Linked DNA regions of Homo sapiens: region 1 is linked to region 2. The links are contacts of gene promoters, found by promoter capture Hi-C in human tissues and cell types (Jung and others, 2019). All regions are on one chromosome and are shown on one strand. The core of a region is centred on a gene start or on the middle of the fragment in contact, and the rest is flanking DNA. Distances in the headings are between cores, read along the strand shown.

Region 1 (3,074 bases), core at 82-2,581, 140 kb before region 2:
GCATCCCTAGGACCCACCTTGTCTGGAGTCAGGAGAGACTTCACCCCAAAGCTCATGCAGCCAATGAGTCCACTCTGTCTGGGAGAACAAGTGAGACTTGAGTCAGCATTTTTTTTCTGGGCTCTATCGGGAGGTCCATTATCAAGTATAGCATGGGTTTGCCTGATGCACTGTGGTTTACAAAGCTTTTTACCCACATCATCTCGTTTGATCCTTCTGACTCTGTGAGGCAGGATAGAGAGGAGCTATTATCTCCATTTTACAGAGGGAAAAATGGAGACTCAGAGTTGGTCCCTTTCCCAAGGTCACAGGACAAGTTCAGCACTGCCTCTACCAAACACAGAAGCTCAGCGGTACTTCATGAGTTTTAACCGTTCTGGTGCTAGGTAGATCTGAAGAGCTGGTCCCCACAGGGAACCTCCTTGCCCACATCATTGGTGATGCTCAGTGGAGGAGAACAGTTATGGGACCTCAAGCTCAAGAAGTTCTATCTCAGGTCCAGGAAGGAGCTGAGCAGTTCTTAGATGGCTACAGATCAAGGTCCAAACCAACCTGACACAAAAGCTGCTGAGACCAATCTGACCTGGCCACCAGCAGGGCAGGTAGGCATGGGCCAGGGTCAGGCCTCATGGGGATGTCAGACTATGGCGAGGGGCTAAATTCAATCTTCTTGGTTAAAAAGAATTCACAGCTGGGCACGGTGGCTCACGCCTGTAATGCCAGCACTTTGGGAGGCACAGGCAGGCAGATCACTTGAGGTCAGGAGTTTGAGAACAGCCTGGCCAACATGGTGAAACCCTGTCTCTACTAAAAATACAAAAATTAGCCCTACGTGGTGGTGCATGCTTATAATCCTAGCTACTCAGGAGGCTGAGGCAGGAGAGTCACTTGAAACCAGGAGGTGGAGTTGCAGTGAGCCAAGATCGCACCACTGCACTGCAGCCTGGGTGACAGAGCCAAGACTCCATCTCAAAAAAAAAGAAGAAGAAGAAGAAGAAGAATTCAGAGTTCCTGAAGAATGTCCACCATTGAGGCTCAATGTCCAATAATCAGGGACTAAGAGTTGGCAGCTTTTAATAATGATGGCATGGGCCAGGTGCAGTGGCTCACACCTGTAATCCAGCACTTTGGAAGGCATCACTTGAGCCCAGGAGTTTGAGACCAGCCTGGACAACAAAGGGAGACACCATCTCTACAAAAAATTTTTAAAATAGCAGGGCATGGTGGCATGAGCCTGTAGCCCCAGCTACTGAGGAGGCTGAGGTAGGAGGATCACTTGAGCCTGGGAGGTCAAAGCTGCAGTGAACTGTGATTGTGTGTTACTGTTCCTCCCTCTTGGGAAGTGGCCAAGTCAGCACTAACAGGAGGCAGTTGCAGCAACAGAGCAAGACACTGTCTCAAAAAAATAATAATGATAACATCAGTTAATATTAATAAAGTCCAAAAATATCTTGATATTGTTAGAGAAAAAGAAGTTTACAAAGCTGTAAATTTAATGAGTAATGTGAGTTTAATGAGAAAGACACCCACAAAAATACTAACAATGGTCATATCTGGTAGGTGGGATTACTAGGGGTTTAATTTTCCTTTATGGGTTTTCACTGTTTGCATAGGGAACAAGTATCGTTTTTATAATCAGGAGAAAAAAAAAGACAGTATCAATATACTTTTAAGGACTTTTATTGTGCCACATCCTGTTCTATCCTGACAGTAAGAGTTTTTTTTTAATGTCATCTTTCTGTTCTCCTCTCTCTTACCCCATCCTCAACTTGGACTAATTCATAGGTTGGTTTAATAACTATTAATCAAGAAACATCGTGGATATTTAGGCTGGAGCATAACCCTGGAGGCTGGCTTCAATAGCTGAAGGACCCACATAGCTGAGAGATTTGGCATGTCCTATGGAAGGCACAATATCAAAACCAAAGATGGAACAGGCTTCTGGATAGGTAGTAAACTCCCTAGAGATGTGTTTTCCAAAACCTGGTCTAAGGGGGCCTGAGCTAGAGCAGTGGTTCTATCCAGAAGTGTACCACAAAACCACCTGAACAGCCTGTCTGAGGTATATGCTCCAGGACTTCTTCCTGAGAACCCAAAATTAGTTGGTCCAAGGTGGGGTTCGAGCATGGGAGCCTGGAGAAAGCTCTCCAGGGTATCCTGCCAAGCACCCACTTATGCCTGCCCCAGTCAAAGACCAGTGATCTAGAAGGTCTCAAAAAAGACATATTGTTCAGATTCTCCAGAAAGCGTGGCAGCTTACCACCGGACAGTCCTAAGCAAAACAAAACTAGCTTCTCACAGGCAGCCAAGTCAAGCGAGGGGTGGGGAGGCAGGATGCTGGGGGATTGCTCCTCAAAACTGGTCCACCTGCCTGCAAACCCATGCTCTGCCCCATGGCCCAGAGCTGAGGCCCCTGCTTCTGGCTGTCTCTCAACAGCTGCTCTCAGTTCATCACTCCTGCTCCCAGCTCCTTCAGCCTTGGCTCCATCTGCTGCCTTCTTCCTTGCCTCTCTCATCATCCAAGGCTCTATTAATAATCTATTCAAAAAGGACAATGCTCTCACCCCAATAAAGTGCCCTTCCACATCCACCTCCCCAGCCCACCACCAAAAACAAATACTCCTCCCCCTTGGGAAGTAGCCAAGTCAGCACTAATAGGAGGCAGTTGCAGTGACTATCATAAACAGCCAAAACTAATCTGAGCTGCCATTCCAGAAAAGCCTTGGCAAGACTTTGCCAAAGTCCTCATACCAATTTCATTTTATTTGTCACACATTCAAGAGAACTCCAGCTGCTATCCAGGTGCCCATACTACTCTGTTGTACACTTCTTTCCTACTGGGTAGGGCTGAAACTTTCAAAGTCTCCAGGCCAATGCATTAGCTCAGCAACCTCTCTCTGCTCTTCACTAAGCGAAATCTTCATTCCCTGGTGTTTAGAGAATGTTAAATGGTTAATAGCCTCCCTCGAGTTTTACTTCCTGCTAAGGGGCCTCCCATGCTTTCATGGTAACTCAGGCAGCGTAAATTGCCACAATTAATGTCCATAAGCAGGAACCTCTCTCTAAGTGTTCTT
Region 2 (3,021 bases), core at 1-2,500:
AACAGGTAGGACGAACCAGGAGCTTTTGGGTGTTGCTGAAAAACTGAACCCCTCCCGAGCCCAGCACCCTATATAAGATGTGTTTATTACAGGTCACTCTGGGTAGGCGAAGTCCCCAGCCAGAGCCCTCAGGCTTCACAGCAGGGGTGAACTGCAGAGTCGGGTTGGGAGAAACAAGCTGTTTAATCAAATTGCAAGGAAATCCCCAGGGGCCACAGAGAAGCCCAAGGTGACTTCGACTCTCCCAATCTCAGCAGCTCAGGAGAATGGTGATGACAAGGAGGTGGCCACCCTGGAGCCGAGCTGGAAGTGGAGGTGGCGAGAAAGCCTGGGTGAAGGGGAATCCCCTGATATTCTCCCTACCCCCACCGTTTATCCAGCTGAAGCCCTTAAACCAGCCTGAAGTACAGTCAAGGCCAATCCTGAAAGCGAAAAAGAGATCACCGCACCAGAAGCCAGAAGGGGTTAGGAGCAGGGGGAAGAGGCGAAAGGAGGAGGGGGGCTTTGAGTCCAGGGGTTAAGGGATACGGTCGCGCTGGATTTTATCAGTGTCAGTTTCCACAGGGGCGGGAGCTGGGGCACACCCTGCGCTGAGAACTGGAGCAGCTGAGCCTTTCATGCCAGCCCCAGCTTCCTCAACAGAGCAATGGAAGGGGCCTGGGGAGCCTGGATCCCCTTATCGCTAAGCATTTTACCCACTATCTTATTTATTTCTCACAACTCTAATAAATACGCGCTATTATTATTGTTGTTGTCCCCAAACTACAGATGAAGACACTGAGGCTCAGAGTTACGTGACTCACAGGGAGTAGATTCGAACTCAGGCCAGCCTGACTTCAGAGGCCACACCCTTAACCGCCTAGTCCTACAGCCAAAGCCACCGAGGAGCCTAGGCTCCGGGGCCGGGTGTCGAGTCCGCCCAGCCCCAGGCTCCCCAGTCCCTGCCGGGTCCCGCCAGGCGCGCCCGGGGTCTCCGGAGCCCTCGCCTTCCGGCGCCCACACCCGCTCACCCGCAGCTCCTCGGCGCGCTCCTCCGCCCGGCGGATGCGGTGCCCCCGGCAGCGACCGCCCAACCCCGCGCAGGCGGCGCACACGGGCCGTCGCTCGGAGCCGCAGAACCAGCTCAGAGCCTGGCCGTGTTCGGGGCAGAGTGGCCCCGGCCCGGGCCCGGACCCGGACCCCGGCCCCGGCTCCGCGCCCTCGGCGGACATGGCCGTGCGCCCGCCCCGTGCGCTCCACCTGTCGCAGGTGGCGGCGGGCGGGGCCTGGCTGACCCCGCCCCCGGCCCTCCCGGTGCGCCAGCGCGCCCCGCAGCTGCGCCTCCTCCCACCCAACCCGCGCTCCCATCCCGCCCGGGGCAGCAGGTCTCTTTAAATTCCTTGTTGAATGAAATCGCGATTGTATGCGTATTTGTTCTACAACAAACATAAAACTCCAAATATTACTGTGACCGTAGGAAACTTTATTGAGCACTTATTAAGTGCCAGGCTTTCGCTGAGAGCTTTGCAAGCGTTCTGTTATGTAATCCCGACCACTGCCCTTTTTGAGAGGCAGCTTTAGATGCCTAGCTTCAAGCAAGGCTCTGCTGAGAAACTGCCTGGTTCAAATCCCGTTTGGCTGCTCACTGGGTGGGAACTCCAGCTGTAAAATGGGGTGAGAGTACCTGCCTCCCAGACGTCTGAGGAGTAAATACGCTAAATACGTAAAACAATATCTGGAACATAGCAGCTGCAATCGCTAAGTGTCTACTAACAGTGCGAGGAAAGTACTATTAGGATCCCATTTTTATGGAAGTTAAGTGGCTTGCCAAGGGTCACAGTTACTAATTGGTAGCTATGAGATTGGAACCTAGGCAGTGTGACTTAAGGTTACTATAATTAATAATTTTTTAAATTGAACATTGAGGCCCAGTGAGAAATATCTGTATTAGGCTGATTTTCCCAAAGTATTTACATCCAAACTTTTTGAATTTGAATATTTGAGTTTTCTTTTTAAACTAGCATTGAAAAAAAGTAATGCCTTTTTATTTCGAAGAAAACAAAATATGCAAATAAGCATGTGGAAGAAAAATCCACCCACTCCCACCCCAGAAAGAAAAACTGCTAACATGTTCCTGAGCTGTTTAGGGCTTTTCCCACCCTCAGGATCTTATATATTAGTCTGAGCCCAGATTGAGCCCTCTGCTGGGGATCCAGTCTAGTCTGTCTGGGCATACAAGGAGAACGCTGCTCTCCAGCTCTAAATTCTTCTTCTTCTTTTTTTTTTTTATTTTTTTTTATTTTTTTGAGATAGGGTCTCACTGTGTCACCCTGGCTGGAGTGCAGTGGTGTAATCATAGCTCACTGCAGCCTCGACCTCCCCAGCTCAAGTGATCCTCCCACCTCAGCCTCCTGAGTAGCTGGGACTACAGGCACATGCCACCGTGCCCAGCTAAGTTTTGTATTTTTCGTAGAGACAGGGTTTTGCCATGTTGCCCAGGCTGATCTCAAACTCCTGGGCTCAAGCCATCTCCCCCCTTCAGCCTCCCAAAGTGCTGGGATTACAGGTGTGAGCCACCGCGCCCGGCCACCAACCCCAAATTCTTTCTTAGGAGTCTTGGCAGAAAGCTGGGCACTCTCTCAAAAGGGGAAGGGCCCAGGCCTTCAGGTGTCAGAGAGTACTCTGAGTGCATCAGAACTGAACACAGGCGGGAGCTAAACCGAAAGAGAAACATTACATCCCATAGCTCACAGGGGCTCTAGCACCTCTACTCTGAAGCTTCTCTAAGCAATGGCCACACAAAGGAGATAGAACCCTTTCCTTCTCAGCCACTACTGCTTTAGCACCTGAGGGGTAAGGGCAGCTAACAGCCCCAGAGCTACCCAGAGCGGTACACAGTGGTGTCATCATCCAATGGGGACACATTGTCACCCCAGATAGACAATATTACACCATATGATTAGAGAGAACACTGAGTGAAATATAGTCATTGGTTTCATCCCAGCTATGCAGCTTACAGCTATGGGATCTTGGTCAGGTTAC

What was found. Contacts are between HindIII fragments. The study calls those that stand out against the background at their distance.
Region 1: a fragment that was not itself captured here is called in contact with the fragment with the promoter of BSPRY in region 2 in 2 of the 25 tissues and cell types used here (heart left ventricle and mesendoderm cells).

Annotation. Positions count from the first base shown.
Region 1 is chr9:113,492,790-113,495,863 of GRCh38, reverse strand. It overlaps RGS3 (regulator of G protein signaling 3), which reads right to left. Exons shown (of 23, transcript NM_001394167.1): 6 at 18-78. Among named protein-coding and RNA genes, the nearest start is that of RGS3, 31 kb to the right of the region's middle. The HindIII fragment of the contact is 6,530 bases long and covers 1-3,074 here.
Region 2 is chr9:113,347,770-113,350,790 of GRCh38, reverse strand. BSPRY (B-box and SPRY domain containing) reads right to left here and starts at 1,250. Exons shown (of 6, transcript NM_017688.3): 1 at 1,011-1,250. The coding sequence starts at 1,211. RefSeq lists silencers at 903-1,182, 1,213-1,282. The HindIII fragment of the contact is 5,403 bases long and covers 1-3,021 here.